7 separate regions of the Homo sapiens genome follow, and regions 1, 2, 3, 4, 5 and 7 are each linked to region 6. Evidence: promoter capture Hi-C in 16 types of primary human blood cells and fetal thymus (Javierre and others, 2016). All regions are on one chromosome and are shown on one strand. The core of a region is centred on a gene start or on the middle of the fragment in contact, and the rest is flanking DNA. Distances in the headings are between cores, read along the strand shown. Region 1 has its middle 17 kb from the start of TPRG1-AS1. Region 2 overlaps LPP (LIM domain containing preferred translocation partner in lipoma). Region 3 has its middle 94 kb from the start of TPRG1-AS1. Region 4 has its middle 27 kb from the start of TPRG1. Region 5 overlaps LPP (LIM domain containing preferred translocation partner in lipoma). Region 6 holds the start of LPP-AS2 (LPP antisense RNA 2). Region 7 overlaps LPP (LIM domain containing preferred translocation partner in lipoma).

The links. The method cuts DNA at HindIII sites, captures the fragments that hold promoters and counts their contacts. A CHiCAGO score of 5 or more calls a contact.
Region 1: a fragment that was not itself captured here is called in contact with the fragment with the promoter of LPP-AS2 in region 6 in 1 of 17 cell types (erythroblasts); the score reaches 5.7 in erythroblasts.
Region 2: a fragment that was not itself captured here is called in contact with the fragment with the promoter of LPP-AS2 in region 6 in 2 of 17 cell types (neutrophils and activated CD4 T cells); the score reaches 6.4 in neutrophils.
Region 3: a fragment that was not itself captured here is called in contact with the fragment with the promoter of LPP-AS2 in region 6 in 1 of 17 cell types (fetal thymus); the score reaches 8.5 in fetal thymus.
Region 4: a fragment that was not itself captured here is called in contact with the fragment with the promoter of LPP-AS2 in region 6 in 5 of 17 cell types (activated CD4 T cells, neutrophils, total CD8 T cells and 2 more); the score reaches 7.9 in activated CD4 T cells.
Region 5: a contact is called between a fragment that was not itself captured here and the fragment with the promoter of LPP-AS2 in region 6, in 1 of 17 cell types (neutrophils). The highest score is 8.5, in neutrophils.
Region 7: a fragment that was not itself captured here is called in contact with the fragment with the promoter of LPP-AS2 in region 6 in 2 of 17 cell types (naive B cells and total CD8 T cells); the score reaches 6.9 in naive B cells.

The regions. Positions count from the first base shown.
Region 1 is chr3:188,962,833-188,965,806 of GRCh38, reverse strand. No RefSeq gene overlaps it. Among named protein-coding and RNA genes, the nearest start is that of TPRG1-AS1, 17 kb to the right of the region's middle. The HindIII fragment of the contact is 1,577 bases long and covers 672-2,248 here.
Region 2 is chr3:188,756,770-188,759,595 of GRCh38, reverse strand. The region is part of intron 8 of LPP (LIM domain containing preferred translocation partner in lipoma); the gene reads right to left. Among named protein-coding and RNA genes, the nearest start is that of MIR28, 69 kb to the right of the region's middle. The HindIII fragment of the contact is 1,892 bases long and covers 380-2,271 here.
Region 3 is chr3:189,040,359-189,043,249 of GRCh38, reverse strand. It overlaps a transcript of TPRG1 not described here. Among named protein-coding and RNA genes, the nearest start is that of TPRG1-AS1, 94 kb to the right of the region's middle. The HindIII fragment of the contact is 751 bases long and covers 882-1,632 here.
Region 4 is chr3:189,143,970-189,146,669 of GRCh38, reverse strand. It overlaps a transcript of TPRG1 not described here. Among named protein-coding and RNA genes, the nearest start is that of TPRG1, 27 kb to the left of the region's middle. The HindIII fragment of the contact is 1,946 bases long and covers 467-2,412 here.
Region 5 is chr3:188,696,655-188,699,383 of GRCh38, reverse strand. All of the region lies in intron 7 of LPP (LIM domain containing preferred translocation partner in lipoma), which reads right to left. Among named protein-coding and RNA genes, the nearest start is that of MIR28, 9.2 kb to the right of the region's middle. The HindIII fragment of the contact is 2,080 bases long and covers 298-2,377 here.
Region 6 is chr3:188,152,746-188,155,445 of GRCh38, reverse strand. It overlaps LPP-AS2 (LPP antisense RNA 2), which reads left to right and starts at 1,358. Exons shown (of 1, transcript NR_036497.1): 1 at 1,358-2,700. It overlaps LPP (LIM domain containing preferred translocation partner in lipoma), which reads right to left and starts at 1,289. Exons shown (of 12, transcript NM_001375462.1): 1 at 1,194-1,289. RefSeq lists enhancers at 1-54, 1,854-2,700 and a silencer at 1,082-1,421. The HindIII fragment of the contact is 6,292 bases long and covers 1-2,484 here.
Region 7 is chr3:188,728,527-188,731,226 of GRCh38, reverse strand. All of the region lies in intron 8 of LPP (LIM domain containing preferred translocation partner in lipoma), which reads right to left. Among named protein-coding and RNA genes, the nearest start is that of MIR28, 41 kb to the right of the region's middle. The HindIII fragment of the contact is 2,886 bases long and covers 1-2,700 here.

The sequences.
Region 1 (2,974 bases), core at 211-2,710, 810 kb before region 6:
CAGTGGCACCCATCCTTGTTTCAGGGAATTTACAATCAAGTACAGGAGACAAGTTTAGCCCATATATAAAGTTAATATAACAGTAAGATATACCTAATGAGGTAGCATTTGTTGGTCAGTATCTAACCTTGAGGTTAGATATGATGTTTCACATGTCTTTGTTTCCTAGTGCCTAGCACAACACTGGCAGAGCAGGTGAAAAAGAAAGAAAAAAAGAGAAGAAAAAACGGAGGACCACAGGTTTAGACTTAGGGAAATGTCCAAAGTTATAAGGTAGAGAAGGAAAAAGCTACGAAGTTTTTAGAGAAGGCCAGGATGCAGGTATAGGAGAACCAGAGTAACGTTAAATTTCAAGAGGTACTAGAGGTAAAATTGTCAAAAATATGCAATGCTGCAGAGCGGTACAAGACAATGGGACTGAAGAAAAGGTCACGTAGTGAATAACTATGCTGTTTTTGCAATCTGCTGGTAATTTCTCAGAGGAAATTATCAGGGGTTTGAATTATTGAGAGAAATGTTTTTCTCTGAAGGCAATCTGAAGGATCTATGAAGTTGAGCAATGGTGTAATTAAACTGCAATGTCTAGTTTGCCTAAATAGCCTACGTTGAAAAAACCTTCAGGGCTTCCGGTTTCCATGCTCAGAGCAGGGACTGGTTGTATCGGCTAAGCTTTCACCGGGGAAAACCCAGAGCAATGAAGGTGACGCACATTTCATATGCCAAGGAAAATAGGATTCAAAACCAAGGTATAGGCTGAGCTGAAAATGAGCTTCACAAAGCCTTAGCTAAACTCACAGGTGAGAGATTCTTAATGAATGACTGTAGGGAATCTAGATATCTAGGAGCTACACTCCTAATTTGGTTGTTGCAGTCAGGGAGACAAACCAGGCTCTTCCGCAAAATGCCCTCCATCGCCTCTGTCAGAGACGCAGTGCCAGGATGAATTAGCTTTGCGTTCGTTCCCAGGAAGAGGAACGAACAATGAGCCAGAAGACCAACTTCTAATTTCAGCACCTCTGTTTACCAGATGTGTGATGGTCAGACAAGATATTTCCTCTCTCTGAATCTCTATTTCCTTATCTACAAAGTGGATAGTATAATAATACTTTCCCGCACAAGGTTGGTGTGGGAATCTAGTAAGACACTGGCCTTAAAAATTATTTAGAATTCTTTGTTATACCAATATTCAGTATAGTAGATGTGTTTTTGTTATTGGTAAAGACAAAATGTCAAAATAGGCCTTAAAGTTTGCAAACCCAACCCACATGATTCAGTCCTTTTCCATTTTTTTCTGACCCTTAGGATTCATTAATCCTGGTGTAAGTATCTGCTGGGATGCAGACTTTCTTTTGCAGTCTTTCATTATCTGTTTGTTGAATAACTGTTATGTTATTCATAACATAACATTGTTCTAAGCACTAGAAATATGAAGGGAACAACAACAGTAACAAATAAAAATAATAATAAATACCCAGCATTCCTTAAGCACTTTCTATGTTCCAGATTTGACATATACCAACTCATTTAATCTTTTTTACATCACTATGAGGTAGGTATATTTATTATCTTCATATCAGAGGTGAGAAAACTAAGACTTGAAGAAGTTCAATAATTCACCCAAAGCCAGATGGTGGATAAGCAGAAAAGCCAGGAACTAGGACTGGCCCAGGTCGCCTGGCCCCAAATCCTGCACATTTCACCATTGTGCTATGCTCCTACAATAGTCATGGTCCCTACACTCGCGGAGCTCACACAGTAACTGAGGATACACACAGGTCAGCAGCCAAATACAATAACTGCCTCCAAGGAGGAATTCCTGGAGGGGCAACCGCTCTCAGAGAAAAGAATTCTGTAAGTCTATTGATCAGCACTTGGAAACCAGGCTCTGATAGACAAGGCAGTACCTCCCTCTAACCACATGCCTTGAATCTGAATATTTGCCTCTGAAATATATACAGCCTTTTAGTTCTAACCATAATACAACCTCTTCCATGTATGCAATACGTCACGACCTATTTATAAGGTATGTTACATCCATGGTCTCATTTGCTCCTCCCAGCAGTGATGTGAGATGGGTGGGCTTGGGACTATTATCCCCATTTTATACATGAGGAAAGTAAGGCCCTGAGAAACAAGGTCACTTGTCCTGTTATTAACTTAGTAAGTGGCTGGTTATCAGATTCATGTCCAGCCTTCACTCCCATATTTGCCCTCAAGAGCATATCATCTATCATCTCAGTTTAAAGCTTTGACAGCGTGAATTACTTCTCTGGTCAAACCTGCAGATATTTCAGAAGAGGTTCCAGAGTGGAGTTTTGAAGTTCTGCTTTCCACAAATGTATACTTTTTTTTTTTAGGTAAAGCTACTTTGCAGTGTCTTTTGTCGCTTACATCTAAGTTCTTTCAGGCTCAAAGTTTAGAGAATTTTGTACCCTCAGGATTACTTAGCCATTGACTTGGATCACCTCTGACCTTGTCTAAGGTGATCATCTAATGTGATGATTTTGGTCATTTTAAAACATTGCTAGCCACAGTTCATATCATTTAAGGAGGCCTGGCACAGGCAGAGAACACGGGTACCGGAAATGTACCATTCCTATTTCCAGGGCAAGGAGAGCCTGGCACAGGCAGAGAACATGGGTATCGGAAATGTACCATTCTTATTTCCAGGGCAAGGAGAGCCCTCCAAGCAGATTTTTCCATGAGCCTGAACTTGAGAACAGCATTAGGATATGAAATTGATTTCCAAGCATCATGAAAAAACGTCTCCAGAGACTCTGAACACATTCCTACTTGCTGAGTATAGCCGAGATAATTTTAAATTCTAGAGTGCAGTTTTATTTCTACCTTGTATCTCTTTTTTTTTCTTCCTCACCAAAATCATCCAGCTATCTAGCCAGGAGCAATGCCAGGTAGGCAGTAACTTTTATGGTGATTGACACTTGGAAAGGAACAAAAATACTATTACTGACTC
Region 2 (2,826 bases), core at 76-2,575, 600 kb before region 6:
ATCCCAAGGCAGTCCTTTAATTTCTAGATCGCTTTGATGGCTAAAAGGTTCTTTCTCCTACTGAGCCATAGTGCTTCCTCATTCTAACTGCTTACCCCATGGTTCTAGTTCTGTCTTCTGAGACCTTATCTCTCTCTTGGACTTGACATCCTTTAATACATCAAAATTCAGTAAGCATTGCTTCCAAGTCTGTTATTCCTTTGAACATCCACACATCCTGCAATAGTTTCATATACTGTAGGGTTTTGAGTCTTTCAGGGCCACGGTTCTCGTTGTTCATGCAGTATTCTGCGAAGCTCCAGCATTCTTAAATTGATTAATGTGGCATCTGGCCTACATATGGACATCAGGTTTCAGTTTTTAAAATTTGCAGTAAGCTTTAAATAATAACAATAAAATATAAATTCAGACAAATAGTTATGTCAGTGAGAGGCATTATGCTGGTTGCCATCCATATCTCTATGTGGCTCCATCATGGGAATCTTGAGCTAGACGTCACGTCCACATCTAGTTTCCCTTCTTAGTCTTTGTTTCTACTAAGTTAAAAAAAATTCTATCTAATAATTATAGAACACTGGGAATGTTAGCCAGAAGCTGTAGGCTTTGATAGATAAGGTATAGCAAATGTAGTGCTTCACATATGTCAGACTTTTTCTAGGGGCTTTAGATATATTAACTCATTTCATATTCACAACAGTCTATATGCAGGTACTGTTATTATGCCTATTTCACAGATGAGGAAACTGAGTCACACAAATGGTTAACTAAATTCCAGCCTAAGCAGTCTAACTTCAGCATCTGTGCTCTTAAACACTATGCTATATTACCTATTCCCAGTTCTGTGCATCAGGATTAACATGGATCTGATGTTAGGGAGCATTATGGAGAGACTTCTCACTGAAGACGGCTTTCAGCACTCCATCACATTGGATTGACAGCCATTTCACACTCAAACATGGGAGGGCTAGATGTTTCAACGTGAGAGAAAAAAAGGTAAATTTATTTCTAATCCTCTCCAGTTGTATTTGGCCCTGAAAAGTATTTCTTTATATCCTGTTGTGGGATTTGAATGTGACTTTAAATATAACCCAAAGTATACATCTTAGTTTTTTTCCTAAGGAATAAGAAATATGAAGGCTGGGTGCAGTGGCTCATGTCTTCAATCCCAGCACTTTGGGAGGCCGAGGTGGGTGGATCACCTGAGGTCAGGAGTTCAAGACCAGCCTGGTCAACATGGTGAAACCCCATCTCTATGAAAAATACAAAAAATAGCTGGGCGTGGTGGTGTGTGCCTGTAACCACAGCTACTCAGGAGGCTGAGGCAGGAGAATCGCTTGAACCCGGGAGGCAGAGGTTGCAGTGAGCTGAGATGGCGCCACTGCACTCCAGCTGGGTGACAGAGCGAGACTTCATCTCAAACCAAAAAGAAATATGAAGTGCTGGAAAAAGAGTTAAAGTATTGGAAACTAAGCTGTCACCACTACAGTTGATATCATTATAAAGTCTTGATACCACAGTCTTGACATTTGATGAAAAAATTTTGTATAGTATTTGTTTGTGGCAGACTTCAAAAGTTTTTATCCAAGACTGAACTTGTACCTGTTTTTATTATGAGATAACATTTTGGACTTTCCTGCCAACAGTAACAAAACTATTTCATATGGCACTATTTTTGAAATTATTCTGAAAAAAAAAAAAAAAAAAAACCAAAAAAACAAAACCACAAAAAAAATGTGCTATGTTTGAAAATCATGCTTAAATTCTAACAGCTTCATGCCACCCTTTGACAACATTTCATTGCAGAAAACGAATTAGGGATTAGGAGTAAATGGATTACCAATCCATATGATTATTAAAAGCATATTAGATTCCTGTGAAAGCTGTAATTTTACATTTTACATTTGTTAAATGCAGGCAGGTCAACAAAATTCTTTTTCTATATTACTCTTCCCTTTTCTAGATGTCAAGCAGATTCACTACATAGTACACGAAGGGCTATCAGGGATCTGTGGACCACACTTCCCCCCGTCCCCTAAAAAAGTAGTTCTCATTAAACTATTGGTAATGGCAGTCTACTAAGCAGCTAAAAGTAGCAATTTTGATTCAGACTATGATGCCCGAAGTGTAATACCTGGAATCCAAGAACCTGAGCCTACATGGCTTATGGAGAGTTTGATAGCTACTCATGAGGATCTGGGAGCAAACTTCAATCACTGATTTAGAGGGAACGGCCAGAGCAAAGCCTTAAAGGTCAGGCTGAAAAGATAAGCTTTGAAATGGTCCATCTATTCAACCTCAAATATCTACTCTTGCCCACGACTATGTTCTCCTTCTGTGTGATATACAAAAATGAATTCGACGATGTCACGATGTCAGTGCCTCTCACAGTCAAGACAACCTACATGCAATAGTCACATGGCAAAGCATGTAACACGTCTTAGAAGAAAGTGCTATGGAATGTGGAAGGAAAACCACACTCACAGGGGCTCAGGAAAGGTTGTGTGGAGAAAGAAGCATTTGAGCCGAACCTTCAAGGATGGAATTTTGAAAGGTAAAGGTGGAAGAGGAAAAGACATTCTAGTTTTCCCTCACGGAGAGAATGAGTGACTATGGCTTGGATACCAAAACACTGCAGTGGCTCCATGATGGCATGACACGGAATTGCCTTCTCAGCTATGAAAACAGATGGACTGTATTGTATTCCTAAGGAATGATCTTCTACTTTATGCTTTGGAGAATATTCCTCTAGAGTGGGTCAGCCTAATATGCTGGACTCAGACACAGGCCAGTTTTGCTGCCTCTCATTATTTTTTCTATTCTTGGGAT
Region 3 (2,891 bases), core at 8-2,507, 890 kb before region 6:
ATTTTATGTTTATTAAAACTCAGGCACCATGAGGCCCTATGTTCAAGCCAATATTTTGTGGTTTAGATTCATCTTTCGGTTTGGATTCAATCTATATATAGTTTTCCTTCTATTTTTTGAACAGGGCCCATTTAATTGTGACCTTGTGAAACAAGGTGAAAGTAGAAAGGCCTTATAGTTAGCAGATCCCATAGTGTTCTCCTTTGCTTTACAAAATATTTGGAGAATAAACAATGGGTGAACAGTGTGGTCATTGTCTCTGGTTACAAACGGTGACAGGCACCGGGCTTACTCTAGCTTGTTTCAGCTGTCTCCTTTATGGAGGTCTTTGGGTTGAGACCAGGGTTTCCTTGACAGCTCTTCTGGTGAGCCACCACGCAACCTCCTGCTTGTAGCTCTTCCTTCCTATGGACCTCAGTTTCCTCATCCATAAAATAAGGTTCCTCCCAGCCTTAGCAGATTACATGTTGTTATATGATGATTTATCTCAATGCCTAAAGAAACTATTTAGCTTTCCATTGTGTAGCATACTTTTCTTCAAGCATGATTGAGTTCATTTTCATGAGGGATCATCAAGTATGCCTCAAGCAGCTGAGATACAATATAAAGAAGCAGTGAGAAGACCTGGGTTGGTGAGCCAACTCTGACCCCTGCTAGCCCAGAGATCCACACAACCTCTCCAGGACTCTATTTGTTCATCTGAAGATACAACGTCTTCCTCCTTCCTCTTCATTCAAAAAGTATTTCTTGAAAATCCATAATTAACCAGGATTGGCATGAGATTTTTGAAACATAACAGATACCTAAGTAACCTATAAATTATTAAACATCTTATAGATAGAAAATGTTATCAATATTTTACTCACCTCTGACATAAAGCTTATTATACACCTAGCAGATCAGGATGACCCAAAGAGGGATAAAACACAAGGTAAGATACTAGAAAAATAAAATTAACCAAAAAAGCTGAAATTGGAAAAGAAATATATTCTTGATAGTTCAAAAAAGGACGTTAAGGTTGTCATTATAGCTAAAAGTTTATCTTTCTTTGACTTTTTAATACTTGTTTTATAATTTCAGATTTTTTTTTAATTTCTAAAATTGAGGATATTTTCATTGTTCAATGTTTAGGGCTTCTTAAGGACCTAACCTTAAGAAGATAGGTCAATTCCCATCAACATGTGTTTACAGAGCTCCCCAATGATTCAGAAACAAGCTGCTAACATTGGCATTAACAATACAGAAGCATCCTAAGGCTGGAGGTAGGGAAGTTGATTTTCATATCAGAATCCAAATTATTGGGTGAGGCTCAAGCAATGGCCTGAGATGGTATTTTGAGAGCAAGAGAAGGCAGTGTCTAGTTGTATATTTTACGTTCAACATCCTAAGGAAATAAACAGTTCTGCAGCAACAGGGACAGCTCAGCATCTGAGTCTGAGGCCTTTGTGCATGGCAGTTTCAGAATCTGCTGGGGTTTTCCCCAACCCTTCGCCTCCACTTGAAAGCAGATCTAAGGGCAAGCTGGTCTCTCAAAAAGAAATCACATTCTCTCCTGCCACCAGAGGGCCCCATCACCAGGTAACATGGCAGAAAATTGCTGGCATCTGAGTAAAGGGCTAAGACTAGGAAGCTTGTTCCACCTCCCCACATGGGGTGAGAAGGGAAGCCATGAGTGCCTTGCCCATGCCCCATGTGCAGTTTTGCTTTGCTCCCTAATTAGAAACAATAATATCTCCCACACATTGAGTGCTTACTTAATCACAATAGTCCTGTGAAGTACGTGCTAAAGAGGCTCAGAGTTGTTAAATAATCTGCCCAAAGCATACAGCCAGAAAGGGAAGAGCCAGGATTTGAATCCGAGACTCTCTGATTTCAAAGTTCAGATTCTTAGTTGCAATACTATATTTTTCCTGTTACTTGAATAACTCAAGCAGCTTTTAGTTTATCATTTGGGACCTAGAGGTGAGTTTAAGGAATGCAATGACCATGCTACATGAGAATCCAGCTTATGAAATGATCCTCTTTCTAGGGGGAGGTGGGCTCCTTCCAACTTAGCAAGAAGGAAGCAAAGAATTGGGAGCAATAAGGAAAGAGGAAGTAGAGGAGCCTAGCGACATCCTAAAATGGCTGTGGCTCAGGGGTTCCCTGATTCTGTTTCCTTTCACCAAATCTAGAGCTGTGATGTTATCCAGGCTAAAGTGCAAAGGCACCCTGGTTCAAGATGCAGGTGCTCTCAGCCTAAAATGGAAACAGTCAGGGAAAGACCAGAAGACTGTGGAGGGGCGACCAGGGCTGAACAGGCTTGAGGAGCCTCTTGGGAAGTAAGTCAATCTAAGGAATAGCTGCCAAAGCCCAGGCAGAGATGCCTGAAAAGTGCCTCTGAGCAATAGAGGAAGAATGACACTGAGGACCACCCTTTGACTCATCTCGTGGCTCAGTCCCTAGGGACTTGTGCCCAAATCATGGGGAAAGAAAACAACCTGGATGGAATGTTTTACCCATCGTTTCTTTAAGACTTTGAGAGTAAGGGATCATACCACTGTGGGACCAGTGTAACAGACAATGGTACAAGGTTGGGAGAAAGGGGTTTTTTCCATTGCAGAAGATATGAGCAGAAGTAGCACCAGTATCAGGGGGCAAGAACAGCAGTACTCTTAATGGTGGACAGAATGGCATTGTGCTCCCACTGAGAGATGCCAAGAGCCTTAGCCACAGCAGGAAGCCAAGCAATGGCCTGAGGTGGTATTTTGAGAGCAAGAGAAGACAGAACCCTTGGTATAACTCTCTTGGCACCATCCATGGGGAATACCACCAGCAGCAACAGTGATGAAACTACCAGGGAAACAAACATTTTGGCAACCAAAACTGAGGAGGCTTATTTGTCCATCATG
Region 4 (2,700 bases), core at 190-2,689, 990 kb before region 6:
AAACATGGTCTCTGCCCTCAAGGAACTTGTAGTGTGTTGAGGAGATGCATCCACAGCAATTATAATATGGGGGATCAGTGCTCTAACATGGGTATGTACAAGATACAACAGACAGAGTGGGAAGGCGTCTTGAGTCCCTGACACTCTGTACAGGGCATTGCAGGTCCTTGCCTTCCTGGAAAAGTCTACTCCCAACAACATTTGTTTTTTTGAGAATCCATTATGATGTCTCATACGTCTAACCTTGACACTGGCTACTCTCTTTAAATGGAATATCTGCCTGGAAAATTCCTAGTAATTGTCTAAGTCTTCCTCAGATCCCTCAGAGAGACTTACGGGCGCCTTCTCTTCCTAACTGTGACCTAACTGAAGGTGGAGGTCACATCTTTATCCTTTGGCCACCAGCATTTAACTCACTGCCCAACATGAAACTGATCTTTAGTCACGGCAATGCATAAACAAAGCTTTAATACATTCATCATGCAACCAACACTGCCTGGTTTTTCAGTACAGGGAAAACCAGCTGATGTGATGAAGGGTCTCCTGTTCCACAAGCCACACAGATCAATGATAGTAAAGCTCTGACTATTACAGAAAAAGGTTTTAATATTATCCAGATTGTCTCCCTTTTTAACTACTACCAATTTTAGCCTGGCTTTCTCTTAGAAAAATGCAAATAAAGATATGCATATTCTCTTCAATATGGCAGCCATTCATATATATGAAGATATCAGACACATATAATATCAATATAAGATTCTCCTTTGTGATTTCTCAAGCACACACAGATAATTAAGTCATCATTAACGTACTTTCTGAAGTGTCTGACATGTGTTAATCACTTCTTAGCAGCTTGAGTGTCATAAATATGGTCCTGATACCTCCAATATCATCTCCACGCATATCTTTTAAGTTCAGATTTGCTTCATTGTTTTCAGTCCTGTGTTCTAGAAGTTCTAGATCATTTTAGATATTAATTTGCTGTTATTATTAATGTTATTGCTATTAATTTATTGAAAATGTGTGCCAAGCATGATACTAGCTGTTGACACACTTCTTTTTCAATTCTCATCTGATCTGAATCACAAACAACCCTATTGCTACCTTATAGGTGATGGAACTGAACTCTTAGAAACAGTAAGTCTCTGTTCAATGTTACTTCACTGTCAAGGGGTCAGAGACAAGCTGCAAGGTTAGGCCATTCTCTCTCCAATGCCAGAACTCTTTCTCCTTACTATATTACGCCATCTCTTTGTGTTAGTCTATGGTATTTGATTTTTGTTTTAGTTTGGCATGTTTTTTTTTTTTTTAGATGGAGTCTCCCTCTGTTGCCAGGCTGGAGTGCACTGGCACGATCTCAGCTCACTGCAACCTCCACCTCCTGGGTTCAAATGATTCTCCTGCCTCAGCCTCCTGAGTAGCTGGGATTACAGGCGCCTGCCACCACGCCCAGTTAATTTTTGTATTTTTAGTAGAGACGCGGTTTCACCATGTTGGCCAGGATGGTCTCAATCTCTTGACCTCATGATCTGCCCACCTCATCCTCCCAAAGTGCTGGGATTACAGGCTTGAGCCACCGCACCCGGCCGGTGTCATTTTTATACTTGGGTATTCCCTCTTCCAGATAATCTTTCAAGTAATTAACAAAAAATATTGAACAGAATAAAAGGCTTCTAGTCCTCACCAAAAACCTCCTTCTAGCTTACATGGAACAGTTAGCAAGGCTCAAGCGTCATTTTTATTCACCTGCCCGTGAAACCAGTGTGTAAGACATGACCCTGCCTATATTTCACCTGCTTATGTGCAATCACGTCACAAGAGGTCGTGTTAAGTCCACTGCTAAAACTTCCTCATCCTGCTGATTTACCAGTTGTGTGGCGTAATAAGAAAAGGAAATGGGGTGTGTCTAACACAACCTGTTTATGGTAAACTCCTATTAACTTCTAGTGATCAGTGTCTTTTCTTCAAAATACCCATGAATCAGTTGTGTAATGATCTGTTCCAAAATTTCAGCAAAAACCAGTAGGAAACTCATACTATTTCCTGGCTTCACTGTTTAGTCCTGTGATAAGATGCAAGTAATCCCCTTTATTAAAAGAGAAAATCCTGTGAATCTACCAAAATATTAGCTGTTTCCAGGGCTATTGAGAAACTCCCACACCTACACCCCCAGTTATATTTTAATGCTCAGTTTGACAGCAGAACCACCTGCCTCTTTGTTTCGAAATGTGAAGTCACATCACTATTTTATGTACTGTTTCCTCTTCATTGCCTATATGTCACCTGGAGGAGTATTTGGCTAAATATTCCTAAACCCACAATTAAAGGTTAAAAATACCTTGAAATTGCAGGAACAAATGGTTGCCTATAAGTTATGTGGATCTCTGAAGTCCACTTATAGGAAACAAAGCTTTCTTGCCACAACCATATTGAATCCAGGAGGATGTAGGTGATGTCTGCTTGTTCATCATTGTACTCCCAGTGTCAAGAGCATAGCAAGGGCTCAAGAAGTATTTGTTATAGTGAGCAAGGAGAAGACAATAATGAGAATATGTATACTCTTAACAGAGATAACTCAAAGTTTTAAAATCGTAGTAAAACATGTATGACTGACATGAGAATGTTTCCAGAAAGCAGATCTGGTCATTAGACTGTGGGAAGAGTTCCTGAAGATCCTAAAGTAGGAAGCTACACAGAGAG
Region 5 (2,729 bases), core at 88-2,587, 540 kb before region 6:
TTGTTGGAAGAGTTACTGCAGCTGGGAAAAGGCCTGGGCATCCAGTCAGGGGGCCCTGGTCTCTGCACACAAGGGTTTTATCTAGGCTGAGCTGGGGGAAAGTGAGGTCTCTCCACACCCACCTCTCTCCGTCTCCACGTGTCAAGGCAGCTATAATAGTGCCTGGGCTTGGAGCATCTGGCTCTTAGGCCTGATGTCTAAGATACTACTTAAGTTCTCCAGTGATTTCTTTTTCTATTGTTGATTTTCTCATATATAAACTGGAGAATAATAATATCTGATTCATATGAAGAAGCTTTGTAACATATTAAATATCAAATAGATGTCAGTTATAATTATCAAGAGGGACAACTTAGAAACCACTAACAAAGATGATTTTCTTCTTGGAAGCAGAATGTTTGCAGAATGAGATCTCTCCAGTAACTCTCCACTTTTCCATCTGCTGATAAAGGACTTCAGTGTAGTGTACCCGAATTTCACATTAATTGTTGCTTTAGCAAGGGATGTAATTACTCTGAGTACTTTTTAGCTACAAATCTTGAAATTCATGCCATTTGGTGAACGTATGCCTTGCTGCCTCTCCAACTATTAATTCTTGTACAGTCTCGCCTTTAGGACCAAAAGACAAATAGTAAAGTAAAGCTCATGCTTGGCTATTTAGAGCAGAGCAGCCTCCCTTAGGCTTCGGCAGACAAGGTACAACCACTGATGTTATCCTGCCGGGTAGGCAAGAAGTAAGAAAAGCGAGTCGCAGAGCAGAAGCGCCAAATCCTCAGAGTCGAGGAGAATCTAGGTCAAAGATCTCCTGCCAACCTTATTCACAGTTCTCATTTCAGGGTTCCTTCCCTCTAAACCTCCATGCGGGCCCTCCGTAAAGGAGAAAGCGAGTTTTCTCGGTGGGGTGAGAAGATCTCTATTTGTGTGAAACTAAAAGAACCTATTTCCACAATGTTATGGCTAAAACATACACTCAGTTTTTCCCATTAATTAGGCTTTATGGATGTTATATATTAGAGATTTGACATAATAAAGGCAAGAGAATTCCAAGACATTATTTCCATTGGATGGCTTCACCTAGGCAAGACCCATGACCTAAAAGTTTGATGAATAGAATGAACCATTATTCAAGGTTGGGTTTTCAAACTAAAACCATATTTTGGCCTTTGCTGTGCCCCACATGCCTGGCAGTGACTCCAGGCACACGTTTCATCTTCATTTGGTTGCCTGGAAGAATGCAATGGGCTAGTTGCTCTAATGTCGGGAAAAAAAGGTTTTATCACCATGCACAGCTTTCTATGCATTGTCCCATAGAAAAACTATCCTCAATTACAAGCTACAGTTTTAATAAAGCACTATCAAAAAGACGGCACAGAGTTTCGGTTGCCACGGCTCCAGCCCTGACTGGTTCTAATTTCCTGTCTGCTCAAAATAAGATTTTATTAATCTGTTATTTTAGATACTTGGATTGTCATAATTCTTGCCATTATAGTGCCAAAAAATAAGAAGATATGAAAATAGTACATCTGATAATTACAAATGTATAAAAATATATATGCAAAAGGGCCAGTATATGTTAGCCTATGTAAGTATTATCAAACAGCTACTAGAAGTGAATATATCCAAATGTTAACAAGACTTATGTCAGGATTGTGATATTATGATTAATTTGAGTTTTTCTCTTTATAATTTTAAAATTATCTAAACAGAATATTATAAAAATGGATAGCTCTTAGAAAATAACAGGAAACATACTTTATAAAACATGGGGTTCCAGACTTTTCTTTAGTATTTTCAGGTATGAACCTAGGAGAGATTGGAGAGCCCAAAGTGTGGACAAGTTGCTGATAAAAATAAGGCACCTAGATTTTCAGTCTGATATGCATAAAAACACTTTCCTACTGTACAAGCTGTTTCTGTCTAGTGGGCTTGACAGATGCCTGAACGTGACACAAGACACTGAAATAACATGCAAATCAGTTTTCGGTTTTAATATGCAAATATGACGCTTGGCACATCACTTTCCATGGCGAGGTAAATTTCTGTTTTTGAGTTTTTCGTGGGAAATGCAAACCAGCAAACAAATGGTTAACTCCCCATCTTTCACCTAACACAAGGTGGTTTTCATTTGAGTCAGAGCGGTTCTGGCTCAGCAATCCAAGACACTTAGGATGCAAAGAAAGGGCATGTGTTTTGTTCAATAACAATGCCACCCTAGGCAAGCAATCCTACCTTCTGACAGACACACCGATCACACTGAATTTTTGGGCCTCAGCAGGGAGGCAGACAAAGTGCCTAAGTGAAAATAACAAGAACATGTTTTTTTGCTTGACCAGTGAAAATCAAATCAAAGTATCTCAACATGGTAAGAAGATAAGCTTATAGCCAAAGAAGAGAAAAAAGTCAAGGGTCCTTGTTTCTAGAGTACACGAGCAGTGTAGCAAACTATAGCCTCCTATGAAATCTATATTAAATTATCCACAAATAATAGTAATTAATTAGGCATTAAAGCAGTCATCAAAATGAGTGAGATGCAACCAGTTCATAGAATTTATAATCCAGTCAGGAAATCAAGGTATATGAAGGAGAAATAAAAGAACAAAGCAAAAAATTGAACGTTGATAGTAATCAGTATGCCTTAGATATATAGGTTCTAGGGTCTGCTTACTTGGGTTCAAATCCCACATCCACAGCTTACCAATTGTATGATCCAGTGCAGGATGCTGAATTTT
Region 6 (2,700 bases), core at 109-2,608:
GCAGGGAAAGGTAAGCCATTAAGTCATCAACACCTTAGTGAGAGTGAATTTTACAGGAAAGGCAAGAGATTTAGTAAAAGGGGAAGGAATGGAAAGAGAAAGGGGACTGGAAACACAGTTAAGTGAGTTTGGTACTAGCAAAAGCCCCAGAGAAGACCCTGAGTTCTCGCTAGTTGTTTTGTGTTGGGGGAGGGAAAGCAGTGGATCCCTTCTAAGGGAAGGGAAGCCAGAGAGATTTTTCAGTTCTCCTACGACTCCGAGGTTCCAAAGACTCTGCCCTGTCCAAGCACCCAGGCACAATTCCACTGATTAGCTCATCTCATATCACAACCTCCCCCATCCCCAACCCCTTGCCTCCAACTAAAGAATATTTATACTTTCATCTCCATTTCCCACACTACTTAGTCTTCTCTGGCCCACGGTTCCCTCGAAGAGATGTCTTCCTCCAAGCCGCTAGCTGGCTTCAGGAAACTCCTCAACCTCCAAAAACCCCATTCAGTGCAGGACTCTCCAAAAGGCCGTCCCAGGGACCAGAAAATCAAACCCCCTCCCTGGAACTTCCTTTAACTTTGTCCACGCCTTTGCTCCAGCACTTAGCATTTTCTACCCTAGGCCAGGTTTGACTCCCAGGTTCAACTGAGTTCCTTGAGGGCAACGTCCAATACACCCAGCACAGGGTCTGCCACACACAGGGTGCTAGAGAAATGCTTAGAGAAAGGGAACTTAAGTCCGGAGCCAACTATTTGAATTATGGTCTGGCCTCTAGTAAATAACTTCCGGGCGACCCTCCTTCTCTCTGGGCCTCAGCTGCCCCAACTGTAAAATGGGAGGACTTGGAGGACTGGGTCTAGGCCCTTTCCGCTGTGACAACTGTGATTCCGCGAAAGCTCTAAGCGGATGGGCGTGGCCCCGCCCCCTGGGCGCCCAGAAAAGTCCGGGCAGGGGGCGCGCAAGGCTCCAACCCCGCCTAGCCTGGGGTCGACGCTTTTGGAAAAACTCTGGGTCCCCCTCCCCCATGGCGTGCACCCCGTGATTGGGCCGCGGCCGGCACTTCCGCACAGCGGGCCAGGCCAGAGCAGGGCGCGCGCCCTGCGCTCTTGCCACCCCGGAGGCGCTCGCGCCGGGGGAGGGCTGGGGGTTCCCGAGGCGCCCGCGGGTGGAGGGTGAGGGGAAGGAAGGATTTGCAACAATACCTCAGGGAGGAGGCAGCCGGGGCAGCGGCGGTGGTGGTGGCGGCGGCGGCGGCGGCGGCGGCGGCTGGAGGCGGAGGCAGAGGCAGAGGAGGAGGTGCCCGGGCACTCCCCCTCCCATTGTCCCCAGCCCCGGACAGGCCCGGCCCCGCGCCCCACACTGGCCTCCTCGAGCGCGCCGCCCGCGCCCAGCGCCCCACGCCCCGCGCCCCGGGCCGTGCAGCCAGCCCTTACCTTGCAGCGCCCGGCTGTCTCCCGATCGCTAAAGCTACTTATCCCGGGAAAGCTCGCGCGGGACCCGGGAACGAACCCACAGACAAAAAGTGAAACTTCGGCAGGGCTGGAGCGGCTGCTGGTTGGTGCCTTTCCCCCTCCTTCCTCCCCACCGTCCCCACCCCCTCCCCTTGGTCTCCCGTGCGGTGCCCTGAGCGCTGGAGGCTGACGTCAGGGGCCTGAATTCCTGACTTTGCCTGCACGCATTTGTCCATGTAAGGTATGGGAAGGCGTGTGCCCGCGAAGCCGCCGCGCAGAGCTCGCCTGGCGGGGGAGGGGAAACCCGCAGCCGGCAGTGGCTTTGCCAAAAGGTGGGCGCACTGAGGGCATTGCATTTCCTGGGAGGAAGAGGAGGAGACGCGGGAATGCAGGGAGCTTGCAAAGGAGGAAGAGAAAGAGGGAGATGTGGAGACTTTGCCCCTGCTAGAGGAAGAGGAAGGAGACGTAGGAGGAAGCGGCCGCGTCAGGGGGCTCCTGGAAAATGGAAAAGCCTGCGTCTACTATTAAGGCGTCAAATTAGGGCACTGAGCTTGAGTGGAAGAGATCCAGCCATGAAATCCCCTTCCAAGATTTTCCTCGTGAGCCCCGCCCTGGATTCCCAGCAAGACTCAAAACTTACAAGGTGTCAGAGCTGGCAAAGACCAACTTCCAACCCGTCCGCTTGGCACGTGAGGAAACTGAAGCTCTCGGAAGAGAAATGACTTGTACAGGGTCGTCACTCAGCAGATCGAGGAGCGGGCCCAGGCGCTCTGCCTCCCACTTGGGTTCCCGCCTCCAGGAAGGGCCCTGGCTCCCTTTTAGCCCTGAGCCTTGAAGCAGGTTAGATGCCCGCGAGCTGTGCGGACCACCCAGTGATTTCTACTGCTCTTGGCCCAGAGCCAGTTCCTGGAAGGTCCTGGTTGACAGCGAGCCCTGAATATCAATGACAATCAGTTGCTTCAGGGCAACTTCCTCTGTCCTGTGCTCAAATAAATGAATCCCTGGAGTTTAACGTTTACTTCTGAGCCCCGCCCAGAAAGCTTGCTCTGTGCTTATAGCTTCAAAAAAGTCTGCGAACGAGATGAACTGGTTTGAATACAGACAAGCCTGTCATTGGAAGTTTTGAGTTGGATTTTTCTTTCCCCTCTGACATCTGTAAGGGTGAACGACGATGAGAACCACCACTTAACTGTGTTAGGGGATTATGACGCGCAGCAGCCATGGCCAGGAAAGCATTCCATACCCTGAGACTTCCTTT
Region 7 (2,700 bases), core at 11-2,510, 580 kb before region 6:
TATTTAGGTCCCCGCCATGCATGTTCCCAGGACCAGGATTGTTATGTCTAGAAGATCACTGAAAATGTATCAGAAGAGCACTGTCACAGGCAGCGTAATGCCTCCCAAAGAGGACCATGTCCAAATGCTTGAAACCTATGAACATGCTACTGTATATGACAAAACGGACTTTGCAGATAGGATTAAGTTAAGAGTTTTGAGATAGGAAGAGTATGTGAGGTTATTCAGGTGGGTCATATCTAATCAAGTAGGTCCTTACCAATTGGAGAACTTTTCCCAGCTGGGGCCAGACACAGAATGACTATGAAAAAAATGGTCAGAGGTGCTATGTTACAGGCTTTGAGGATGGAAAAAGAGGGCCACAAGTCAAGGAATGTGGTCAGTTTTTAGAAGTCAGAAAAAGCAAGGGGGATTCTCCCCTAGAAAGAACCTTCAGAGACAAATGCAGCTTTGCTAACATGATGGTTTTAGCCAGATGAGACTCATGTTGAACATCTAACCTACAGAACTGTCAGATCACAGATTGTGTTGTTTTAAGGCCTAAGTTTAGAGGTATCATAAACACTTATTGACACAACCCCTTTTAGTTGATAAAATTTCTCCTCCTATCATGTCGATCCAGTTTGAGAATGACAAAGGGAAGAAAGGGCTTAATGTATTTGAACAAAGGTTAAATATGATAAATTCACTCATACTTCCTTACCAGATTCCCAGAATATTTTCCTATTAGTGTTTCTCCACTTACAAGTGAGTACCAAGATATCTCCAACCTTGGGATAATTCACTCAATTCATAACTACCAAACACTGTAAATACGTGGTACAAAAAGGAAATAAGGTTTCCAGAGTTAATGGAGAAAAGTGTTAGCCTGGGCACTGGCACTTGGTGGCTGTGGCTTACACTCCTGTTTCAATCTGGGCACCATTTGCTTCATCAAAATAAATAAATAATGAAGTCAGAATTAGGAGATGATTTCCAAGGTCCTTTCCATGGTAAACACATACAACCTCTTAAGTAAGCATCAGGATCTTGAAATATTTTCTCCTTGAAGGTGGGACCAGCACAAACAATGCACATATGCACATACGCACAATGATTTTCTAAAGATCTACTAATTTCTTAGAAAGTTGAAAGTAATCTTTAAATCTATATGTGTGTATATATGTACTTTTAAAACATCATGGCCATTTTTTAGTTGAATCTGGTGGATTATTCACATAATAGTATTCTTTTTTTGGAGACAGGGTCTGGCTCTGTTGCCCAAGCTGGAGTGCAGTGGCATGGTCACAGCTCACTGCAGCCACCAAAAATTCCTGAACTTAAGTGATCCTCCTCCCACCTCCACGTCCAGATTAGCTGGAACCACAGCATATGCCATCATGCCCATCCATTTTTTTTTTTTTTCACTTTTTGTACAGACAGGGTCTTACTATGTTGCCCAGGCTGGTCTTGAACTCCCAGGGCTCAAGCAATCCTCCCACCTTGGCCTCCCAAAGGGCTGGGATTATAAGCGTGAGCCACTGTGCCTGGCCACATAGTGTTCTTACAGTATTGCTGATGTGTGAAAATCTAAACACACACAAAACACACCAAAAATATAGCTGGCTTGATTTGCATTTCTGCATACCTAGGCACTTCCTGTTTTGAACTGAAAGAGAACAAAAGAGAGCAATATCATGTTTCTTATCCCACAAGCACTTTAAATCTATTCCCATTAAATTTCCAGCCCCATTATTCCCTATTAAGTGGCTTTATAAGGTTATCCAAGTGGTATACAGCAGTAGAAATGGTTATCCCTTCAGTTTTACATAAATCACTAATCTGATGTTACCCATTGTTTGACAATAGTCAACAATTTCCCATTTTGCACAGGTAAACATCCAAAACATCCTTCCTATGACTATCACACAAGATCTTTTATCACTGAACTCCAGACTCTCTATCCTTCCTTGTCCCACTACTTGTCCCTCAACTCAATGTGGCTTCAGCCACAGAGAAGTTCTGTTAGGAAGTAACATCTTCCTGTTCCCAGAATACCATGTTTTCCTACCTCTATACCTTTGTACATGCTGTTTCTTCTGTATCTAACATCTTTCTTCTCTTTCTCTACTTGGAAACATTTTATTCCTTCATGAAGACATCAGATATCACCTCTTAATCTCCCTAGGGAGGTTTTTCCTAGAGCTCTCAAACATTCCCTCTCATAATCATAGGTACAGAGCTCCTTTATAACATTTATCACATGGGAAAAGGGATTATCATATATTTTTTATTCTCTAACCTATAATGGTCTATGGACTTCTTGGGGGCAGAGACCTCTAAATTTGTTCATGGTACATTTTTTTTTTTTTCAGAAAGCACTTATAGTAATTCTAATTCACCCCACCTAAGACAGAGATGGACATATCATAGGCTCTGCATAAATATTTACTTAAACCAAATAACCTTATAATCTACTGTGTCATTAGTAGACATACCAACTCACTAGAGAAGGGAGATCACATAAAATCTGGAAGATAATTTGCTTGCTGGGTTTCACCATCTCTGTTATTTGTTCAGTTATCAAAGGAACAGAAATTGAAAACAGACACAAAAAAGCTATGCAACCCACAAATCTACTATGAAAATGTGTATTCCATATTGATGAGCTGTTTCTTAACTAAACGAAGTGAATAGGTATAGATCTGCATAATATAATAA